Regions from separate parts of the Homo sapiens genome. Here all the other regions are linked to region 3. Evidence: promoter capture Hi-C in 16 types of primary human blood cells and fetal thymus (Javierre and others, 2016). All regions are on one chromosome and are shown on one strand. Each heading gives the region's core, a stretch centred on a gene start or on the middle of the fragment in contact. The rest is flanking DNA. Distances are from core to core; before and after follow the strand shown. Region 1 overlaps YARS2 (tyrosyl-tRNA synthetase 2). Region 2 has its middle 76 kb from the start of FAR2. Region 3 holds the start of CAPRIN2 (caprin family member 2). Region 4 has its middle 33 kb from the start of FAR2. Region 5 has its middle 3.5 kb from the start of DNM1L. Region 6 has its middle 52 kb from the start of FAR2. Region 7 overlaps FAR2 (fatty acyl-CoA reductase 2).

The links. Contacts are between HindIII fragments. The CHiCAGO score rates a contact against its expected background, and 5 or more counts as called.
Region 1: a contact is called between a fragment that was not itself captured here and the fragment with the promoter of CAPRIN2 in region 3, in 6 of 17 cell types (activated CD4 T cells, naive CD8 T cells, total CD4 T cells and 3 more). The highest score is 9.0, in activated CD4 T cells.
Region 2: a contact is called between a fragment that was not itself captured here and the fragment with the promoter of CAPRIN2 in region 3, in 8 of 17 cell types (monocytes, total CD4 T cells, activated CD4 T cells and 5 more). The highest score is 10.9, in monocytes.
Region 4: a contact is called between a fragment that was not itself captured here and the fragment with the promoter of CAPRIN2 in region 3, in 1 of 17 cell types (neutrophils). The highest score is 5.3, in neutrophils.
Region 5: a contact is called between a fragment that was not itself captured here and the fragment with the promoter of CAPRIN2 in region 3, in 3 of 17 cell types (non-activated CD4 T cells, naive B cells and total B cells). The highest score is 9.0, in non-activated CD4 T cells.
Region 6: a fragment that was not itself captured here is called in contact with the fragment with the promoter of CAPRIN2 in region 3 in 2 of 17 cell types (non-activated CD4 T cells and total CD4 T cells); the score reaches 6.9 in non-activated CD4 T cells.
Region 7: a fragment that was not itself captured here is called in contact with the fragment with the promoter of CAPRIN2 in region 3 in 1 of 17 cell types (erythroblasts); the score reaches 8.6 in erythroblasts.

The regions. Positions count from the first base shown.
Region 1 is chr12:32,745,915-32,749,165 of GRCh38, reverse strand. It overlaps YARS2 (tyrosyl-tRNA synthetase 2), which reads left to right. Exons shown (of 5, transcript NM_001040436.3): 5 at 1,803-2,622. The coding sequence ends at 1,962. Among named protein-coding and RNA genes, the nearest start is that of YARS2, 8.4 kb to the left of the region's middle. The HindIII fragment of the contact is 1,542 bases long and covers 632-2,173 here.
Region 2 is chr12:29,071,724-29,074,798 of GRCh38, reverse strand. No RefSeq gene overlaps it. Among named protein-coding and RNA genes, the nearest start is that of FAR2, 76 kb to the left of the region's middle. The HindIII fragment of the contact is 1,166 bases long and covers 927-2,092 here.
Region 3 is chr12:30,753,290-30,756,641 of GRCh38, reverse strand. CAPRIN2 (caprin family member 2) reads left to right here and starts at 1,691. Exons shown (of 19, transcript NM_001385503.1): 1 at 1,691-1,891; 2 at 3,083-3,298. The coding sequence starts at 3,122. LOC645485 (a long non-coding RNA gene) reads right to left here and starts at 1,568. Exons shown (of 2, transcript NR_135046.1): 1 at 1,371-1,568. RefSeq lists silencers at 163-366, 1,458-2,137 and enhancers at 2,065-2,234, 2,238-2,317. The HindIII fragment of the contact is 2,894 bases long and covers 1-2,674 here.
Region 4 is chr12:29,115,039-29,118,275 of GRCh38, reverse strand. No RefSeq gene overlaps it. Among named protein-coding and RNA genes, the nearest start is that of FAR2, 33 kb to the left of the region's middle. The HindIII fragment of the contact is 2,836 bases long and covers 114-2,949 here.
Region 5 is chr12:32,674,058-32,677,539 of GRCh38, reverse strand. No RefSeq gene overlaps it. Among named protein-coding and RNA genes, the nearest start is that of DNM1L, 3.5 kb to the left of the region's middle. RefSeq lists an enhancer at 2,147-3,346. The HindIII fragment of the contact is 2,972 bases long and covers 273-3,244 here.
Region 6 is chr12:29,095,397-29,098,675 of GRCh38, reverse strand. No RefSeq gene overlaps it. Among named protein-coding and RNA genes, the nearest start is that of FAR2, 52 kb to the left of the region's middle. The HindIII fragment of the contact is 8,335 bases long and covers 1-3,279 here.
Region 7 is chr12:29,153,372-29,156,825 of GRCh38, reverse strand. All of the region lies in intron 1 of FAR2 (fatty acyl-CoA reductase 2), which reads right to left. Among named protein-coding and RNA genes, the nearest start is that of FAR2, 5.8 kb to the right of the region's middle. The HindIII fragment of the contact is 611 bases long and covers 1,872-2,482 here.

The sequences.
Region 1 (3,251 bases), core at 153-2,652, 2.0 Mb before region 3:
TGAAATGAGCATATAATGGCCAAAACCGCAAGTACTTTTGCACTAACCTACTAACGTCATAAGACTATTATTGTAAACTATATAATAATCCCCTTGAGAATTGCATTTTCTATTCAGGAATTGAGTAGAATATTTTAATTAATCAGTTATGAGGTATTAAGGAGTAAATAAGGTTTTTCACAAAAAATAATTCAGCATATAATTGATGCTTATCCATTTTTAAATGAACAGTGAGGTGGAAGGAAAAGTGTTGGGTAGCCAGAAGACCCCCAGGTGCCTCTTTTGCAGGAGTTCACACAGAAGTCAAATGGTTATCGGCCATATCATGGCCATGATTATGAATGACATTTGTTATAGTTGTTCTCTTTCAACTGTCTTGGATTGTTTGCCTGTGTCCTAAAGAGTCCTAGACTATTCTGCCTGGAAAAAGCACCCATTGTCTCCCTTTGCATCACCTGCCACTCCACCTTAGTGATTCCCTCATCTGCTGGTTTAACACACAGTGAATTTGAGGCTGGTGTCATATACTTCCCTGTAGTATGTCAGCGAGACAAATAATTTTCCTCACTATGGAAGCAGATTTCGTTTTCTTCTGAACTTTACTATAGTGTGTTCGCTAATACTGGAAGCTTTACCACTACTAAAAATGACACCACATCTGATTTAGCCAGGGCTCTAAGTAATACTGATTTTTTTTTTTAATATTATATAAGCTAAATAGGTTTGGTGCATTTAAATTAAACATAGAACATGATCTGGAAACTAGCAGACAGCGTAAAATAATACTTCCTAAAAGAAAGGAATCTGGCCTTAAGTAGAAAATATTTTACTGATGAGTTTTATAAAACCATGTCCATGGCCAGGTATGGTGGCTCACATTTGTAATCCCAGCACTTCGGGAGGCTGAGGGCGGGAGGATTGCTTGGGGCCAGGAGTTCAAGATCTGTGTGGGCAAGGACGTAGTGAGACTCCGTCTCTACCCAAAAATAAAGGTATAAAAATATCTTTAAAACCATGTCCAGTAGTGGTTTCTTAATTTTATTTGGTAACATTCAGATGAGAGAAAACCACCATTTTTCTTTCTTAAGGACTTCCAAGATCTAGCCACGCTGTAGCCCTGTCTTCTCAGATCTCACCTCTTTCTAGCTGCTCCCATGTTTCCTGCCCTGATTGTCAAGGTAGCTTCACTCCCAGTTTAAGTATCTCTTTTTTCAGTGAAATGTTCAGCCCTCACCTACCCAGTGTGCTCCTAGAACAACTTCTCCTAGGTCTTTCTTTTTTTTTCTTGAGACGGAGTCTTTAAAAGAGCAGATTGCAAGGCGTAAATTCCGGCCAGACACAGTGGTTCACACCTGTAATCCCAGCACTTTGGGAGGCCAAGGCAGGTGGATCACTTGAGGTTGGGAGTTTGAGACCAGCCTGGCTAACATGGCGAAACCCATCTCTACTAAAAATACAAAATTAGCCAGGTGTGGTGGCATGCACCTGTAATCGCAGCTACTCTGGAGGCTGAGGCAGGAGAATCACTTAGAACACAGGAGGCGGAGGTTGCAGTGAGCTGAGATCATGCCAGCCTGGGCTACAGAGCAAGAATGTGTTTCAAAAACAAACAACAAAAAACAAAGAGCAGTAAAGAGAGGCAGAATCTATTAATAATAGAGCAAACATGAAGGTAACAGTCCAGTGCCAAATGAAATCTTCTCAATTGGAGAGCCTCTGAAATCTAAGTGAAACAGTCTTTTTTGGGGGACAGATCAACAGTGATTGGATCTCTCTACTTACTAAACGTTTCTATTTTTTAGGTATCGAATGATAACAGAAGGCGGAGTCAGCATAAATCACCAACAAGTAACAAATCCTGAGAGTGTTTTAATTGTTGGACAACATATTCTCAAGAATGGACTTTCCTTACTTAAAATAGGAAAAAGAAATTTCTACATTATAAAATGGCTTCAGTTGTGATGAAAAGTCCTTCTGGTTGTCCAAATAAACTTACCCATCATTCATTCTCAAGACCTCTGAAGGGTTGGCTCCAGAACTTAGACCTTTGCTTATGCAAATCAGAAAAACAGAATGGACTAGGACTCAGTGTGAGTAACTTCATTATTTTTATGGGCCGGTTAATAAATATTTGTTTAATAATGGGATGTTTTATTTTCTGATGTACAAAGCTTGATTACCATAGAAAACCATGATTTTCAGGGTTAATCTCTTTTTAAAATTATACTTCAGAAGAGAAAGAAATGCTGCTTTCCTATCTTACCCTTCCTGCTCTCCTTTTTGTAGTGATGAGGAACAATGAAAAAGAGGTAGTGTAAGGAATTGTGAGGCTGGGCATGGTGGCTCACACCTGTAATCCCAGCACTTCGGGAGGCCAAGGTGGGCAAATCGCTTGAGGCCAGGAGTTTGAGACCAGCCTGGCCAACAGGGCGAAACCCCGTCTCTACTGAAAATATAAAAATTAGCCAGATGTGGTTGCAGGCACCTGTAACCCCAGCTACTCAAGAGGCTGAGCTGCGAGAATCACTTGAACCCAGGAGATGGAGGTTGCAGTGAGCTGAGATCACGCCACTGCACTCCAGCCTGGGAGACAGCATGAGTAGTGAGTGAAACTCTGTCTCAAAAAAAAAAAAAAAAAAAAGGAATTGTAGCTGCTTTTCTATCAGGTATGGAGCACCGATGTCACTAATGTTATATAGTTGTTTATAAAATCATCAGGGCCTCTAGTGTCCACATTAGAAATGGGAAAACTAGTATTAGAAACTTTGAATAGAAATTTGATTTTTTTGTAGTTCAGAGAGCAAATGTAGTTCTTAAAAAGGAGAAAAAGTTAGATGAGGCCATGGTTGCTTTGAGAAATTACAGTAAGTAGTTTCTTTACAAATAATAGTACAAAAATCAGTACGTGACTTTTCAGAAAGTTTCTAATTCAGTTTTCTGGTTCCTTGCCTGTGTTCCAGTATAATTCTGTTCACATTAAGCCTTGTTGTCAGTGGATTCCTAAGGTAGCAATGTTTTATAAATTTAGAAACTTAAATTGGTTTTAAGTTTCAGCTTTTCCCCCCAAGCAGATTGCAACTTGAGGTAAATTAAAAAGTTAACCCCCCAAAAATAAAGCCAATTATACCAAATATGCAATCATATGAGAATATCAAAAAGTATCCAGGTAAGGAAAGTTTTCAGGTCAAACTTAAAGGATTTGGAATCAAGACTGAGTTCAGCTCTTCAAACATGAGGCAAATTAATTCTCC
Region 2 (3,075 bases), core at 260-2,759, 1.7 Mb after region 3:
GCCTTGATCCGGGAATGCTGGAGATTTTCCGGACTTCTTTCTCTTTCATACTTACAACACCTAATGGTTGTCACGTCTTGTATATTTTATCTCTTCTATACCTTTCAAGCTCATCCCTCTCTCTCAGTGCCCACTGCCATTTCTGTTTTTTTTGTTTGTTTGTTTTGTTTTGCTTTGTTTTTTGTTGAGACAGAGTTTCGCTCTTGTCACCCAGGCTGGAGTGCAATGGCCTGATCTCGGCTCACCACAACCTCCACCTCCCGGGTTCAAGCGATTCTCCTGCCTCAGCCTCCCGAGTAGCTGGGATTACAGGCATGCGCCACCACAGCCGGCTAATTTTGTATTTTTAGTAGAGATGGGGTTTCACCATGTTGGTCGGGCTGGTCTTGAACTCCCGACCTCAGGTGATCCGCCCTCCTTGGCCTCCCAAAGTGCTGGGATTACAGGCATGAGCCACCATGCCCGGCCTGCCCACTGCCTTTTCTAAGATGCCACCTCTTTGTATTAGGTTGGTGCCATTACTTTTAATGGCAGAAACCGCGATTACTTTTGCACCAACATAATAATTATCGCAATTACTGCTCTCCTCCAGGACTGGCTGGCCTTGATGTTGTTTGACCATTTTTCTGCTGTGTTAGAATGCTAAAGAATAGATAGGAGAGAAATGGGAGAGGTATACAGTATAAATTGTCTCTTCCAAATCTGTTCTTGAGCAACTTTCAGAAAAATCACAAATGTGTCTCTGATAGTGGGTTCTTTATAACATGATAAAGTCTACACTTTTGTTCTTAAGAAGAATGATATACTTAACTACGTTCTTAAAAACAACAAAAGGTTCTCATTTTTCTGGTATGTTAGCAGTGATGGCAGGAGGGTGGAGTCCTGGGGACCAATTCAGCAGTACAGCCAAGGGAAAAAATAAAGCTTCAGTCAGTCTTTCAGCAGGCCAGGGAAAATTATTGCTAGAGGACACCTAGTGGCGCTTTGTAGTAATTCACTTACACTAACAAATTGTACATTTGAATATTAAGAGCACTCACTATACCAGGAACTTGTCAACAAATATAACACAACCATGATAAAACAGCAAAGTACAAACCAAGCCTGGTGTTAAATCTAGTTGTATTGGTTGGTATGGGCTAACTGCTGTAACAAACAACCTCCAAACTTAAGGTGCTTAACTTAATAGAGTTTATTTTGTGTCCTCACACAGTACGGATGCTCAGCTGGTGACCTTCCATACAATAACACAGAAAAAACACTTGATCGCATGGAAAACAATGTACCTTATACTTGTATAGGAATATTTAACATCATAAATACATCACTTCTCAAAACAGAACAAATAAAACAAAATACAACATTGTATGTAGAAATGGGCATGGAAAATTGGCAAGACTCATTGAACTACATTTAAGAGCTATGTAATTCACTATACATAAATTTTACCTCAATTTAAAAATGAATTTTTTTTTCCAAAAGAACATCCAGTAGAAAGCTGACAAAAAATAGCAATAAAGGTTAAGGGTAGGGGACACACCATATGTTAAAACTCATGAAATCCCAATAATTAAAAGAGAGTGGTACTATAATTTTAAAAAATTACTAAAAAGGAGAGAGATTGGTATGGGCATGAGAGTAGGCAGGTTAACGAGCTAGAACAGAAAACCCAGATATGCCCAAGTGCATACAGAAATGTAATAAAAAATAAAGTAGTCATCAGAAATCCAGTCACCTATTCAATGAATGTATTTGGGATAACTGTAAATATCTGTATTCTGCTTGGAGAAAGGAAGAAAAGAAGGAAAGAGAAACAAAAGTTATTCATGCTTGAGAAAAATCCCCTCAAGCATTGTATTAGTCAGGGTTCTTCAGAGAACAGAACCAATAGGATGTGTGTGCATATATGTAAGGAATTTATTATGAGGAGCAGCTCATGAAATTATGGAGGCTAAGTCCCAAGGTCTGCAGGGTGACTCAGGAAGCTGGAGACCTAGGAGAGCTAATGATACAATTTCAGTGTTAAGGCTGGCAGGCTAGACACCCAGGAAGAGCTGATTTTTCAGTTCAACTCTGAAAGCAGGAAAAAGCTTACATCCCAGTTTAAGGCAGTCAGGCAGAAAGAATGCTCTCTTATTGGGGGCGGGTCAGCCTTTTCTTCTATGCAGGCCTTCAGTTGATGGGATAAGGTCTTCCCTCATTAGGGAGTATACTCTGCTATACTCAGTCTACCGATTAATCTCATGCAAACACCTTCACAGATACACCCAGAATAGTGTTTAACTAAATATCCAGGCATCCTATGGCCCACTGAAGTTGACACATAAAATTAACCATCACAGTCATCATAAAAGATTTACATTCTCTGACATTTTATTCTCTTTCCTGAAATCTTGCTGTCACAAAGGATCATAATATTTGACCTGAAAAGGATGATAGAAGAGATATTTATTGCAGAATTTTGCAGCTATATTTTTAACATACACATGGAATTTCTCCTCTACTTCTTGCTGAATACAGGTAAGCCTCAAATCTATGACATAATATTTTTTAAATGAAAAAACATAGAGAAACTCTTGCTCTTTTCATCTGACAGAAAGGCATCAAATCATGTCACCTCTGGTTGCCCACTAAATTAAAAAGACCACTTGCCATTGATTGTTGCATTTTAGGATCCTATCTATTCCTGTGTTAGCACACTCCTGACCAAAAGGACACACACTGTTCCTCATTCTCTTTTTTCTATAATGGGTTTGCATTTGATCTATGCTTTGGGTGATTAATGGTGGTTAGTTAACTTTGATATTTAGCTTGATATTGATATTATGTATTGATATTATATCAATATCTGATATTGAGCTTACTCTGATATTTCAGTGAGTGCAACAGAAATCACTCCAAGGTAGGTGAAAGTATGGAATCATAAATATATTCTTGAGCTTAATATGACATTCATGTTTGAATCCTGCATGGTCCAAAATTGTCCAAATGATCTCACAATTGGAAAGGCTCTTCAAGAGGTAGAATTTGAACAGAAGGCTTTCTGAGTATGTCAACCAGTGTCACTTTTAAACC
Region 3 (3,352 bases), core at 442-2,941:
TTAGTAGAAAATTTAAAATTTACGGCCTCCTTTTTGCCTGACCGATTAGAAGGCAAACATTTCTTTCTTTCTTTCTTTTTTTGAGATAGAGTCTTGCTCTGTCACCCAGGCTGGAGTGCAGCGGCACAATCTCGGCTCACTGCAGCGTCCGTCTCCGGGTTTCAAGCGATTCTCCTGCCTTAGCCTCTGAGTAGCCATGATTACAGGCACATGCCGCCATGCTCGGCTAATTTTTGTATTTTTAGTAGAGATGGATATTCACCACGCTGGCCAGCCTGGCCTCGAACTCCCGACCTCAGGTGATCCACCCCGCCTCGGCCTCCCAAAGTGCTGGGATCACAGGCTTGAGCCACTGCGCCGGCAGGGGGCAAACATTTCATGATTAATCTGACTGAAATACCATTTTTAGGTTCATCATTAGCTCGGACTACAACTCAGGCTGTGCTGTAACTTTGTGTCAACTCATTGATCCAACAGTGTGTCCTTCACATTTTTTCTTATGGCCACTGTTTTTTGTGTTACCAAAGGTGAAGGCATAGCCTTCCTCTCCTCATGTTCAGCATCTTCTGCGTTTCTCTGTTTATAAACAATGAGAAAAAGGGAAAATCTAGTATTTCTCTGACCCTGAAGAACACATATGGGATTCAGAGATTCAAAGTTAAAATGCAACATTAGGGTACATTATGTCACCAGGGACCGAAAAGAACACGGATAATAGATGCCAAAAAAATGTATTAAGTAATGTTAAAATTAATTTGTGTGAAGTTGACCAAGGCTTTTAAAACTAGACCTTTGTTTCCTTGATTCTTCTTCTGAATTTTCTGTTCTTTTGCTAGTCTCAATATTTTTTATCAGAGCGTCAGGGACAATCAGGACCTAAAAAACTCCACTTGGTGTAATAAGTAAACACATGTTGGGGCAAAGTATTGCTGAGTGTGTGTGTGTGTTTCTTATTTGGTATCAGAAACACCTTCCTTTCCTCAATAAACTTTTACATATTTCCAGACTTTTCTCTTAATTTTATGTAACCTTACAAAGATTTTTTACAGCTTTCTCTGCGTGCCAGTCAATTAATGTGTGTCACATGAACAAATAATACGGCTTGAATAAACTCAATCCTATTATTGCAGGTTGCGAAGTCACCTACTCCGTTTTTATGGCGATGCTGATTTGGGGCATTCTGCTCTTACAGGCTGATTCCCCGGTAAGGAAACGGTGTTTTTTCCCCATCCTACTATGAAAGATGCTATCTGAGGGGCAAAGGCGCATCTGCATTTCACGACTACCCACTAGGCTACGACAGCCTCAAGCATGGCTTATCTGGTAGTTCCGCGAAGGGCTCGCTGCCCTCCTGGAGCTATTGGAGTCACCTGTTCAAGGTCGCGAAACCACCGGTGCCGCCGGCAATCAGCGAGGTCCAGCGGGGCTGCGCGGTTTCCGGCCTGCCGGCGTTCGGCGTCGCCTCGGCCCCACCTGGTGCCCCGCAATCTGCGCAAAGGCTGGGAGACCGCGCCCTCTCCCGACCTACCACCAGCCCAAGCTGGGCCCGGAACTAACACCCGACAAGCGCTGGCGGCCAGCTGCAGCCGGGAAGGAGCACCGGAAGGAGGCGGTGGCGGGGCGGCCGAGGGCGGAGCGGGCCGGGGCGGGGCGCGGCCTACAAAAGCCACGCGCGGCGCGGTGGGCGGGCCTGGGCGCGAGCGGCTGAGTCGGCTGGGTCTCTGGCGCCGCAGAGGCCGCGGGCGAGGACCGGGAGGGGAGAGGGAGGAGACAGGAGGAGGAGACGCGAGTGCGGGGTGGCGCCGGTCCACCTCCGCAGCGCTCCTGCCTCCCCCAGGCTTTGGAAGGCGGGCCCGGGCTGCGGCAGCGGCGGCCTCGGCTGCCTGGGGAGGTGAAGTCGGGCTGCGGCGGCCTCGGTCGGCGCGGCGGAGGGAGGCGGCTGACCCGGCGAGGGTGGGCAGGTCTGGGCGGCCGGCGCCGCTGCGAGGTGGAGGGGCGGCTTGGCATCCCCGGGGCGGGGCGGGGCTCCCGAGGGCCGCGGTCGGTGCGTTTTCCGCAGGTCAGCCTCCCCCGGGGCCTTGCAGAAGCGGCTTCTGCGTACCCGGGGCGGCTGTGGGAAGGGTGGGGGTCGGTGCCTGCAGGGCTCTCCGTGGCCGCTCGGGAGAGGTGCTCTTCGCTCAGGCTCCCCCGGAGACTTGAGGGGGTGCGCGCTGGCGTGCATGGGGCCTGTTCTGTCCTTGGTTTGGGGATGCTCCTAAGGGGGGAGAAAGGGATACCTCGGGTGCTTGGAGGTCGAGAGACGGATACGTAAGTGCGCAAGGGCCACTGATTAGGGCACGGGAAGGGCTCGCTAGAATGAGCTCTTAAACTGGTTGGGTGTAAGCGGTTTTGGGCTAGTCTAAACCAAACAACTGAGAATAAACGCGGGGTTCCTGCAGGTTGAGAGAGTACCTGTCTGCAAATGTCCAGTAGTGATGGATTGCCTTGTAGGCCCCAGAGCAATCGGGGAAGTTAGCATTCTTGTTCAAGAAGCTGCTGGTTCACTTAGAGCTATAAAAGAATGTTGTGAGTTTGGATTTTCTTCCAAACGTTCAGGATTGAGGTTAGGGCTGGTGGTGAGGGATCATGTAAAGAGGTTTGAGTGGCTCAGCCTTAGGTCCCGGTGTGGAAAGCTTATTCTTTTGGTGTCATCACGTGGCCATGGGAATTATTTAGAATGTGATCTGCCCTCATGAGAAGAAAGGAGCTCTGAAGCCGTTGCAGTTCTTCCTCCCTATGTGGAAAATCGAATTTCTGGAAACATCCTCCGTATTGGGAGATTTTGCCTATGTAAAGGCTATCCTTATTGGCTAGCGGCACTAATTACTTTAAAAGTAGGATGGAAGTACAAGTATCTCAAGCATCATTGGGTTTCGAGCTCACTTCTGTGGAAAAGAGTTTAAGGGAGTGGTCTAGACTTTCCAGGGAAGTTATTGCCTGGCTGTGTCCCTCTAGTCCTAATTTTATACTTAACTTTCCCCCACCTCCTTCAGCCTCATCTGTTTCAATGGTGCAACTCTTTTCATCCCCTTTTGGTTACCAGTCACCTTCAGGCCATTCAGAGGAGGAAAGAGAGGGGAATATGAAGTCAGCCAAGCCCCAAGTGAACCACAGTCAGCATGGGGAAAGCCAGCGGGCCTTGAGCCCCCTGCAGTCTACTCTGAGTTCTGCTGCATCTCCTTCCCAAGCGTATGAGACCTATATTGAAAATGGACTCATATGCCTTAAACACAAAATTAGAAACATCGAGAAAAAGAAGGTAACTTTTTTTCTTCCAGTCCTGTAGATGCATGATCTTAAAGATTAAGGAGCT
Region 4 (3,237 bases), core at 282-2,781, 1.6 Mb after region 3:
GAATTAAGTTATCTTCAAATACAGCACTAAATCTTTGTTCTAGAGCAATTCTGTGCCCTCATTCTTGAAGAAATTTGAGCGTAGTGGGAGGAAAAGATGTCAAAAATCAAGCTTTTACCACTGTTAGGCTGAGTGAATTCTCCCTGGGAGATTATAGAAGACAAGTGTCTAGAATCAAAAAATAAATGTGAAGTGCAAAACAAAACACCACATTATCTCAGTTATTTCACCTTTAATTTAAACTTCATAATTTATGAAAATGTGTAAAAAAAAGTTTTCAAATTTAATATGATCTTGATGCAATATTATAAGAGAAGTAAAAAAATTCTAATTTATCTTTTTCTCTTTCCCTCTTGCTTGCTTGCTTTTAACCCTTGCTCTCATTATCTCTCTTTTCTCATCTCTAAAAATGGGAATGATAATGCTAACTTTCTAAACTTGCAATGAATATGAAATGACAAAAATGTAAGTAACAGTGAATAGCATAGTGGATAAAGTATAGTCATGTCTCAATGGACTTTTTCCTTTTTCTTTCTGATCAAACAAAAATTGTATCAAATAAATTGTGTATACATTAATTAGAAGAAATAATTTAGAATCAGAAACCACATGGCTTATAAAAAGAATCAAAGAGGATGTATTATCAAACACAAAACTAGTCTATAGTAATAAAACACAATAAACACACTGCAATTAATTTTGCTAATACAGTCATGTGTCACTTAATGATGGGAATATATTCTGAGAAATGTGTTTTTATGCATTTTTTTGTGTGTGTATGTGAACATCACGGAGTGTACTTACACAAACCTAGATGGAATAGCCTACTATACACCTAGGCTATATGGTATAGCCTACTATACACCTAGGCTATATGGTATAGCCTATTGCTCTTATGTTATAAACCTATAAAGCAGGTTACTGTACTGAATACTGTAGGCAATTATATCACAATGGTAAGTATTTGAATGTCTAAACATAGAAAAAGTGCGGTAAAAATGTGATATTTTAATCTTATGGGACCACCATCATATGTGCAGTATGTTGTTGATTGAAATGTCATGTGGTACATAACTGTAGTTGTTTCTTCACTTTGAGATATGTTCTGTAACTGATGATTGCTGTCTTTATTAGAAACTATACCAGCCCGGAATGATATTTATCTCCCTACAGGTAATCTTAAGAAGCAAAGATTCAGTGGAGGCACAACTTGTTTTTTGTCCAGGTTCACCAAATCCAGAATGTATGTGTTGGCAGTCCTGAGTATCACTGTTAAATAAACCAAATTGAGAAAGCCTAACTATAGGGTCAATTGAACAATTTTCTAGTCTAGGTGTATAGTCGGCAATCAGCTAACTTTAGCTATGATGTGTGTCTGAAACAACACAGTACCTCAGACTCCTCTAAAGGGGGAAATGGGCCAATACAAGTCAATAAAAAAGCCAACTCCTGTTTTATTTTTAATAGATCCTTACATAATGTTTACTTTGTCCCTGCCTCTAAAGACATTATATATATTAATTTATTTAATCCTCGTAACAATGCTATACAGAAGGTACTGTTGTGGCATGCCAGGTCTCACCAACGCAGGCCTCCATAACAACTGTTTCAGTACTGAGTGGTTAAGTTAAATATTAAAAGCCAGTGCCCTTATACAAAGGCTGAGGTGTAACAAAAGCCCACCAAGAATTTTGCCTAGGCTGTTTCCTGGGAAGGAATTATTAACAGGACCCATGTAGGATTAAACAAGTTTTATTGTGGGTCTGTAGAAAGTCCCTAGGCCTCTACAAACAAGTTTATTGGGGGTCTGAAGGAACTCCCCAAACCTCCGTGATTTGGAGACAATCATACAAGGAGGCAAGATAAGGGTAATCACCCCAGCATCTGAACTCATTTTAATTAAGTAAATTTACTGAGGCTCCAGAGGAAGCTCTTTAGGACTGAGACCTTAGTTATAGATTAAAAGAAGTTAATCACCCATGTCTTTTGATGAATGCACACTTACACATAGACTTAGAAAGTATATAAGCTCTGAAAAACTTTGTAATTTTGAGTTGGTCTGATGATAATTTCCAGGCCTTCTCCCTGTAACTGGTTGGAGAAATAAAAACTCTCTTCCTCCGCAGTTCATCTGCATCTCATCATTGGGCCACAAGAAATAGCAGCCTGACTCTCATTTTGGTCTGGGAAAACTATGATTATCCTGATTTTGTAGGTTACAAAAATGAGGCACAGAGAAGTGACTTAAGTCATTGTTGGATGAATTTTGTCTGTGCTGGTTTCTGACGCTAACCTGCCCCTCCGACTTTGGCCTTCTGACTTCTCCTGTAAAATGGTGCTTACATAACCTGTAGTCTTTCAGGGTGAAAGGAAGAGACCTGCCCAAGCTATATGAAATGGTGGGGATTTATGAGAATTACCAAGAAGTGAGAAACCACCAAAATCTATTTTAGCACTATGGAGTTAGGCTGGGTCCTGAGGCTTCCGAGGCCGGTGGGTACCTACAGCAGGCATCAGGGAGAACTGAATCAATAGCTCATTGCTAATCAAAATACAATAGCTCCCTAAGTGCCCTAGTTATTTTATTGTTTCATAAGAATGGTTAATGTCATTAATCCCTGTTGCCTTTTTTGTGTGCAATTTAATTCCAGGACATCTGACTAGGGGCATTTTGTCACTGTCTCACATTAAAAAGAACTTTCAGGGAGGAGTTTGGTACCAAAGTACCTCTCTGATAATTGACCTCTCTCACCAGTATCCACAGTTGTTTCAGCTTTGGGCACCAAAACCGGGTTCCTTCAGTCATGATGGAAGTGGCAGTATCACATTATCTAAGGCTTTGCAACTTTACAAAGACTCACCTAGGGCAACTGTTATCCAAAGGGAGCCCTGGCGCTAGTAGACACTCGGAGGTTTACAGTCTCTTGTACCATGCAGGTTTCCAAAGCTTCACATTGATCTCATTGCCCAACCTGACTCCTTCGAGATGAAAGACTGAGTTTGCTGCCTGGCCATATTGAGAGGAGAAGCAGAGGGGCTTCTCCGTCCGGTGGGGACTTGGAGAACTTTTCTGTCTAGCTAAAGGTTTGTAAACGCACCAATCAGCACTCTGTAAAAACGGACCAATCAGCACTCTGTAAAATGGACCAATCAGCAAGATGTGGGTGGGGCCAAATAAGGGAATAAAAGCTGGCCACTGGAGCCAGCAGCTGCAACCCACTGGGGTCCCGTTCCACA
Region 5 (3,482 bases), core at 509-3,008, 1.9 Mb before region 3:
GACCAGCCTGACCAACATGGAGAAACCCCGTCTCTACTAAAAATACAAAAATTAACCGGGCGTGGTGGTGCATTCCTGTAATCCCAGCTACTCAGGAGGCTGAGGCAGGAGACGGGCAGATCACTTGAGGTCAGGAGTTCAAGGCCAGCCTGGGCAACACGGCAAAACCCAGTCTCTACAAAAAATACAAAAAAATTAGCTTGCCTGTCGTGGTGGTGCATACCTGTGGCCCCAACTACTTGGGAGGCTGCAGTAGGAGGATCACCTAAGCTTGGGAGGTGGGGACTGCAGTGAACTGTGATCGTGCCACCGCACTCCAGCCTAAGTGACAGAGTGAGGCCCTGTGTCAAAAAAAAAAAAAGAGAAAAGAGAAAAGAAAACATAATAAGAGCACTTTTTCCAGTCTGAGCAAGAGGATAGAGATTCGAGAAAGACTTCCTAGAAGTTACTAAATTTAATCTCCATGAGGACAAGAACCACCAGCAGTAGTGGAAGTTGTGCACTACGCAACTCCAGTGGGTGCCATTCACCTGCTTAGCTGTACACAATGGCTGCGGGGAACATGCTTGATTTGTTCAGCAGGACAAATGGCAGGTGCTTAATAAATATCTGTGAACAAATGGATGAAGTAAGCCAAGACCTAAAGATCCATTAGTGGTGTTTTGGCATCTTGACAGGTTTTGTGAACATCTCCTCTTTGATTATTTTCAAAAAAAAAATTTTTCAGAGATAAAATAAGACAAAAATTTCAGAACTCCAAAAAACAGTTTTATTCCAAGTCTCTTGACTTTCTACCAAAGATAATATTACATAATAGTCAGATATTACCCACTTTGCTTCTCACCCCTCTGTTGATGGAGCTTTTGTTTTCTTCTAAAGAAAACAGAAGGCCGGGCACGGTGGCTCATGCCTGTAATCCCAGTACTTCAGGAGGCCAAGGTGGGCATATCACCTGATGTCGGGAGTTCAAGACCAGCCTGACCAACATGGAGAAACCCCATCTCTACTAAAAATACAAAAATTAGCTGGGCGTGATGGTGCACGCCTGTAATCCCAGCTACTCGGGAGGCTGAGGCAGGAGAATTGCTTGAACCCGGGAGGCAGAGGTTGCGGTGAGCCGAGATTGCACCATTGCATTCCAGCCTTGGCAACAGGAGCAAAACTCCGTCTCAAAAAAAAAAAAAAAAAAAAAGAGCCAGGCCCGGTGGCTCACGCCTGTAATCCCAGCACTTTGGAAGGCCGAGGTGGGCGGGTCACCTGAGGTCAGGAGTTCAAGACCAGCCTGACAAACATGGTGAAACCCCATCTCTACTAAGAATACAAAAAAAAAATTAGCCTGGTGTGGCGCGTGCCTGTAATCCCAGCTACTCGGGAGGCTGAGGCAGGAGAATCGCTTGAACCCGGGAGGCAGAGGTTGCAGTGAGCCGAGATCGCGCCACTGCACTCCAGCCTGGGCGGCAAGAGCAAAACTCCAACTAAAAAAAAAAAAAAAGAAGAAAAAAAACCAATTTCGGCTTTCATGTTTTAAGTTCAGAACACTCTTGTTTGTGGGAAATCAATTTAACTAATAAGTGGCTAAATGGATTTCCCACAAAAAAGAGTCTTTGTGCATCTAAGAATAATGTGTTCTTCAGTGGCTTCCTGTGGGAATCACATTAAACCATTATCGGATATCAAAAGGCCTTTAAAAAAACCTCTTCTCGGCCAGGTGCGGTGCCTCACACCTGTAATCCCAGCACTTTGGGAGGCCGAAGTGGGTGGATCACGAGGTCAGGAGATGGAGACCATCCTGGCTAACACGGTGAAACCCCGTCTCTACTAAAAATACAAAAAATTAGCCAGGCGTGCTGGCACGCGCCTGTAGTCCTAGCTACTGGGGAGGCTGAGGCAGGAGAATTGTTTGAACCTGGGAGGCAGAGGTTGCAGCAAGCCAAGATCGCGCCACTGCACTACAGCCTGGGCAACAGAGTGAGACTCTATCTCAAAAAAAAAAAACAACAACAACAAAAAACACCTCTTCTCCTGCAACCATCCCTCTCTCACCATAGCTTTATGATTTAGGCAGGATAGCTAATTGTAAGGACAGAAATTTAATTCTGAGCTAACTTGCCTCAAAAATGACTGAATGTCTGGGCGCAGTGGCTCTAGCCTGTAATCCAAGCACTTTGGGAGGCCGAGATGGGTGGATCAGTTGGGGTCAGGAGTTCAAGACCAGCCTGGCCAACATGGTGAAACCTCGTCTCTACTAAAAACACAAAAATTAGCTGGGGGTGGTGGTGAGAGCCTGTAATCCCAGCCACTCGGGAGGCTGAGGCAGGAGAATTGCTTGAACCCGGGAGGCGGAAGTTTCAGTGAGCCAAAATCACGTCACCGCATTCCAGCCTGGGTGACACAGTGACACTCCACCTCAAAAAAAAAAATGACTGGAACTAGGAGCTCAGGCAGAATCAGAGCTCTACATCTTATCACTACATCGTCTATTTCATTCTCTCACGCAGTTTACTCCTGTGGAATGAGGTGAGTGTGCTGTGGGGGAGGGTGTAGGGGATCTCATTCAGCAAGCTGTCTCACAGCAGATGAGGCAGAGAGAACTGGGGAGGAACTGAAACCTAGGAACCTGGTTTCTGCCTTGCTTCTCTAGTATATTAGTTCCCTATTGCTGCCTTAACAAATTACCACAATTTTAGTGGCTTAAAACAACAAAAATGTGGCCAGGCGCAATGGCTCACTTCTGTAATCCCAGCACTTTGGGAGGCCGAGGCGGGCGGATCACGAGTTCAGGAGATTGAGACCATCCTGGCTAACATGGTGAAGCCCTGTCTCTAGTAAAAATACAAAAAATTAACCGGGCGTGGTGGCGGGTACCTGTAGTCCCAGCTACCCGGGAGGCCGAGGCAGGAGAATGGCGTGAACCTGGGAGGCAGAGCTTGCAGTGAGCCAAGATCACGCCACTGCACTCCAGCCTGGGCAACACAGTGAGACTCCATGTCAAAAAAAAAAAAAAAGTATTGTTTTACAGTTCTATAGTTCAGTAGTCTCACACAGGTCTCACTGGACTAAAATCAAGGTGTCACCAGGGCTGCAAACCCTCCTAAAGCCTCTAGCAGGGAATTCACCTCCTTGCCTTTGTTAGGGGCCCCCTGCATTCCTTGCTGGTTACCTCCTTCCAACCTCTTCAAAGCCAGCAATGTCGCATCTCTTTAACTCTTCTGCTGTCATCAGGCCTCTGACCCCCAGAAAAGCTTCTCTGTGTTTAAGGGCCCATCATTAGATTGGCCAACCTGGACAACCCAGGATAATATCCCTGTCTCAAGGCCTGTACCCTTAATCACATCTACAGAGTCTCTCCTGAGACATAAAGTTCACAGGCTCCAGGGATTAGGACATGGACTTATTGGAGGGGCCTACTGCACCTGGTTAAGGTGATTGGTCTAGGGATGGACCTGCAGGACCATTTAGAATCCTTCTCTGAGAATTTCCTA
Region 6 (3,279 bases), core at 118-2,617, 1.7 Mb after region 3:
GTCAGCTGATTCCTGATTGTAGACTGCCCTCAGTTTTCTGATACATGACCTCAGGGTGGTTATTTTCCAACTTTTCCTGATCACAAATTATATAGTAATAAAAATCCTTTTATATATTTTTGCATGGGTATGTAATTCTGTAAGATACTTAGAAGTATAATTTCTGGATTAAAGAGTTTACATATTTTAAATATGTAATTTAATAAATTACAATTAAAATTTAATTTAATTCCCAAAAAGTGAAACATTTTAATGATCTCACCGATAGTATATGGAGAGGGTCCTTTTTCTCATACTCTCAATAATACAGGATTTTTTTTTGTTGTTGTTGTTGTTTCAAGGTATTATTTTATTAAATTTTTTAAAATTATACTTTAAGTTCTAAGGTACATGTGCACAACGTGCAGGTTCGTTACATAGGTATACATGTGCCATGTTGCTTTGCTGCACCCATTAACTCATCATTTACATTAGGTACTTCTCCTAATGCAATCCCTCCTCCTGTCCCCAACTCCATGACAGGCCCCCAGGTGTGATGTTCCCTGCCCTGTGTCCAAGTGTTCAAATTGTTCGGTTCCCACCTATGAGTGAGAACATGTGGTGTTTGGTTTTCTGTCCTTGTGATAGTTTGCTCGGAGTGATGGTTTCCAGCTTCATCCATGTCCCTGCAAAGGACATGAACTTATCCTTTTTTATGGCTGACTAGTATTCCATGGTGTATATATGCCACATTTTCTTAATCCAGTCTATCATTGATGGACATATATGTTGGTTCCAAGTTTTTGCTATTGTGAATAGTGCTGCAATAAACATACATGTGCATGTGTCTTTATAGTAGCATAATTTATAATCCTTTGGGTATATATATACCCAGTAATGGGATCGCTGGGTCAAATGGTATTTCTAGTTCTAGATCCTTGAAGAATCACCACGCTGTCTTCCACAATGGTTGAACTAGTTTACATTCCCACCAACAGTGTAAAAGTGTTCCTCTTTCTCCACATCCTCTCTAGCATCTGTTGATTCCTCATTTTTTAATGATGGCCATTCTAACTGGAGTGAGATGGTATCTCATTGTGGTTTTGATTTGTATTTCTCTGATGACCAGTGATGATGAGCATTTTTTCATGTGTCTGTTGGATGCATAAATGTCTTCTTTTGAGAAGTGTCTGTTCATATCCTTTGCCCACTTTTTGATAGGGTTGTTTTTTTTTTCTTGTAAATTAGTTTAAGTTCTTTGTAGATTCTGGATATTAGCCCTTTGTCAGATGGGTAGATTGCAAAAATTTTCTCCCATTCTATAGGTTGCCTGTTCACTATGATGGTCGTTTCTTTTGCTGTGCAGAAGCTCTTTAGTTTTATTAGATCCCATTTGTCTATTTTGGCTTTTGTTGCCATTGCTTTTGGTGTTTTAGTCATGAAGTCCTTGCCCATGCCTATGTCCTGAATGGTATTGCCTAGGCTTTCTTCTAGGGTTTTTATGGTTTTAGGTCAAACATTTAAGTCTTTAATCCATCTTGAATTAATTTTTGTATAAGGTGTAAGGAAGGGATCCAATTTCAGCTTTCTACATATAGCTAGCCAGTTTTCCCAGCACCATTTATTAAATAGGGAATCCTTTCCGCATTTCTTGTTTTTGTCAGGTTTGTCAAAGATCAGATGGTTGTAGACGTGTGGTGTTATTTCTGAGACCTGTGTTCTGTTCCATTGGTTTATCTCTCTGTTTTGGTACCAGTACGATGCTGTTTTGTTTACTGTAGCCTTGTGGTATAGTTTGAAGTCAGGTAGCATGATGTCTCCAGCTTTGCTCTTTTGGCTTAGGATTGCCTTGGCAATGTGGGCTCTTTTTTGGTTCCATATGAACTTTAAAGTAGTTTTTTCCAATTCTGTGAAGAAAGTCATTGGCAGCTTGATGGGGATGGCATTGAATGTATAAATTACCTTGGGCAGTGTGGCCATTTTCACGATATTGATTCTTCCTAACCGTGAGCATGGAATGTCCTTCCATTTGTTTGCATCCTCTTTGAGCAGTGGTTTGTAGTTCTCTTTAAAGAGATCATTCACATCCCTTGTAAGTTGGATTCCTAGGTATTTTATTCTCTTTGTAGCAATTATGAATGGGTGTTTACTCATGATTTGGCTCTCCATTTGTCTGTCATTGGTATATAGGTATACTTGTGATTTTTGCACATTGATTTTTTATCCTGAGACTTTGCTGAAGTTGCTTATCAGCTCAAGGAGATTTGGGGCTGAGATGATGGGGTTTTCTAAATATACAGTCATGTCATCTGCAAACAGGGACAGTTTGACTTCCTCTTTTCCTGATTGAATACCCTTTGTTTCTTTCTCTTGCCTGATTGCCCTGGCCAGAACTTCCACACTATGTTGAATAGGAGTGGTGAGAGTGGGCCTCCCAGTCTTGTGCCAGTTTTCAAAGGGAATGCTTGCAGTTTTTGCCCATTCAGTATGATATTGGCTGTGGGTTTGTCGTAAATAACTCTTATTATTTTGAGATACATTCCACCAATACCTAGTTTATTGAGAGTTTTTAGAATGAAGGGCTGTAGAATTTCGTCAAAGGCCTTTTCTGCATCTATTGAGATAATCATGTGGTTTTTGTCATTGGTTCTGTTTATGTGATGGATTATGTTTATTGATTTGCATAAGTTAAACCAGCCTTGCATCCCAGGGATGAAGCTGACTTGATCATGGTGGATAAGCGTTTTGATGTGCTGCTGGATTCGATTTGCCAGTATTTTATTGAGGATTTTTGCATCGATGTTCATCAGGGATATTGGTCTAAAATTCTCTTTTTTTGTTGTGTCTCTGCCAGGCTTTGGTATCAGGATGATGCTGGCCTGATAAAATGAGTTAGGGAGGATTTCCTCTTTTTCTATTGATTGGAAGAGTTTCAGAAGGAATGGTACCAGCTCCTCTTTGTAACTCTGGTAGAATTTGGCTGTGAATATTTCTGGTTCTGGACTTTTTTTAGTTGGTAGGCTATTAACTATTGCCTCAATTTCAGAGCCTGTTATTGGTCTATTCAGAGATTCAACTTCTTCCTGGTTTAGTCTTAGGAGGGGGTAGGTGTCCAGGAATCATTCCATTTCTTCTAGATTTTCTATTTTATTTCCATAGAGGTGTTTATAGTATTCTCTGATGTTAGTTTGTATTCCTGTGGGATCAGTGGTGATATCCCCTTTATCATTTTTTATTGCATCTATTTGATTCTTCTCTCTTCTCTTCTTTATTAGTCTTGCTAGTGGTCTATCAATTTTG
Region 7 (3,454 bases), core at 928-3,427, 1.6 Mb after region 3:
AAATCTCCCCCTATGCTGTGGCAGCTACTTATGAAAGCCCTGGGGATCCTCACGCCAAAGATTCTGATTCAGTAGGTTTAAGGTGGGGACAGAGAAATTTGTATTTCTGTCACCCAAAATTGAGGCTGTCACCCCTAAACTACCACTATTCATATAAAAGTGTGCATTAATAATAAAAAAAGATTGGCTTCATTATTGAAATAAAAATCAGAGGCGACTACTCATAGGAAATCCAATCTGCTCAGAGGTAATAAAATAAAACAGTTAAGTTATATTAGATTTAATTTCCCCCTTACCTCTGGATGCCGTAGTTTTATTTATCTGAGTGCCTATCCTGTATATATGAGTTCAAATGTTTGAATAAAATTTACAAGTGATCACCTTTGCGACTGTCTTCTGCTCTTTACATGGGCATGTAGCGTTAGCAACACCAGCCATCAACAAAAACTGGCATTGTCACGACTCCAATGCCAAAAATAGTTTGTTTCATTTTTAAAATTAATATTATTTTAAATTTACAAGTTATAATTTCATACATTCAGAGGATACAGTAGCCATCACTTATCTTTTTTTTGGTGAGACATTTGAAATTTACTTAGTTATTTTTAAATGTACATTATCATTGACTATAGTCATTCCGCTGTGCAGTAGATCTCAAAACGAATGCCTCCTGCCTAACTGAAAATTTGAACCCTTTGACCAGTAACTTCCCCCCACCTCCCCACACCCTGCACCCCTACCACTTTTTGCCTTCAACCTCTAGTAACCACCATTCTTCTCTCTACTTTTATTTATGAGTTCAATATGTTTAGATTCCACCTAAAAATGAGATGATGCAGTATTTCTCTTTCTGTGCCTGAATGCCAATAATGTTTGAGGACCTACTAGGAAGTCAATTTAACTATTTTATTTCTATCCCCTCATAAATTAAATAAATGAAAAACAAAACAATTAAGATTACCTATGGCAGGTGAGTTTCATAGCCTTAGAGCAGGGGTCAACAAACATTTTCTGTAAAGGACCACAAGGTAAATATATTAGGATTTAAAGGTCATAATAATTGATTGGTTAGGGCACTAAAGCAGTCATAGCCAATAGGGATGACTAGACGAATGATACAAGCTGTTTTCTGATAAAACTTTATTTATAGACACTGAAGGTTAAATTTCATATACGTTAAATTTCCTATAATTTTTCCCATGTCACAGAATATTATTCTTTTGATTTTTTCTAAGTTTTAAAAATATAAGAACCATTCTTAGTTCAAAGAATAAACAAAAAGGCAGGGGCCAGATTTCAGCCTTGGGCCAAAGCTGCTGACCCCTGGGCTGGAACACAGAGCTGATGAAGCCAAGGAAGAATTCTACAGCTGTGTGAACCTGTTTCTTCCATTATGCTCTGCTGCACTGTTCTTTGGCCATAAGTTGCATTTCTGCTTCCAGCCTACCACCATGCAAATGCATGGGGATCCAGGAAGTGGATATATGAGACTCAAAAACCAATGTTCCTACAGATGCCCTATGTAGTCACACTGTATTGCCCTGCAGGGGATGGCTTACAAAGATCAGATAAGGCCCAGGCCTACCACGGGACCTAAGAGGCCCTGGGGAGTCTTCCCCATTGTTTATGCCTCAGGTCACATGTATGAAACAGAGACTTCACAAAATGTATCTTGATGAGGTCCTGCAGAACCTTGCCAAAGAAGTAGAAATGAAAAACAATTTTGCTTTTAATCAGACTGCAGATCCTGTTTCTGAATATCATCCACAGAGCAGGGTTGTTTTCATCATCAACTTAATGCCTATTAACAGAGTCAATTCCAGTCTCCCGCTTTCCACCAACTAAGTAGGATTAAAGAGATGAGAGAAGCTTATGGTTAATAGAGAACTGTAGATGTTAAAAGGTTTAATCTATTAATATAGGACAGCATTTCCCAAAGCGTGTTATGCTGAATGCTGGCTCTCTTAGATGTTCTGCTGGAAAAGCATTTCAACGTCAAGTTTAGGAAATGTAGCATAAAAGATCTCTCTTTTCTTGATTATTAACATGCATTAGGACATGCATGCTCTGAGGATTCCTGCAATAAAACTGGTTAAGTAGGGGCCCAGTGCGGTGGCTCACGCCTGTAATCCCAGCACTTTGAGGCAGGCGGATCACAAGGTCAGGAGATCGAGACCATCCTGGCTAACACGGTGAAACCCCGTCTCTACTAAAAATACAAAAATTAGCCAGGCGTGGTGGTGGGCGCCTATAGTCCCAGCTACTCAGGAGGCTGAGGCAGGAGGATGGCATGAACCTGGGAGGCGGAGCTTGCAGTGAGCTGAGATCACACCACTGCACTCCAGCCTGGGCAAGAGAGAGAGACTCTGTCTCAAAAAACAAAACAAAACAAAACAAAACAAAAAAAAAAACAAAAACAAAACCACAACTGGTTAAGTAGGTTAAATCAAGAGTTTCTCAAAGTCATATCATCAGGGAAGCTTTTCTTCCTTTACTTAACTGTTAATATCCCAAGAAAATAATAATTCATAGACTGCAGTTTAGGAAAAACTGCTATAGACAAGGCAGAGGAATGACAGGGTTTTAAGCAGGGGAGTAAATTATGTTTTGGAATAATTATTTCGGAGAGGATCAGATCTTTCTTCCCTAATTTTTCTCATTTTAGGAAATTACACCATATTCCATCTATGTGCTCAAGTCAGAAAGACAGGAGCTATATCTGTCATGCTGATAACTTTTTAAAAAATTATAAAATGCAAGCATGATTTTAAAAATCATTCAAACAGTAGAGAGGATAGTATGAAAAGCAAAAATCTCCTCCCTCCTTTCTCTCACCCCATCCCAGCAGCCAGTATACTTTTCCAGAGGTAATAACCAGGGCGATCAGTTTTTGTTTTATTTTTCAGTTCTTCTTACGGCATCTCTAAATCATATGCATCTGAGCCTACTGTTTTGGATTATAAGCATTTAGCAGTATCTATTAAATGAATTCATTCCCACTCTTCTTTCTGCCTCTCCCACCTCCCATATCCAATCTATCACCAAGACATGTCAATCCAACTCTCAAAACACACCTCAAGTCTGTGCACTTCTCTCCCTCCTCCCTGACAGTACTCTCACCTGCGCTCTGTCCTCCCTGGTCTTCCTACCTCCAATCCTTTATCCCTCCAGTTCACTCTCCTTATTGTCTACATAAAGAGTTCCTCAAAATAGAAATTAGAACAGTCTCTGGCTTAAAAGTCTTCAATGGCAACCCACTCAAATTAAATTCAAGATCTTTATCAACACCTGTGAATTTGGGCATGACCAGCCACCTGCTCCCCTCTCCAACTGGTGTCCTGCCTCTCAGCAGCGCCCTCACCTAAGTGCAGTCACAAGGCCTGCCTTCTCTCTGTCCCCTGAATGCTGCAAGCGTTTTCTCTTAAGACCTTCCCATTTGCAATTTCCTGTGCCC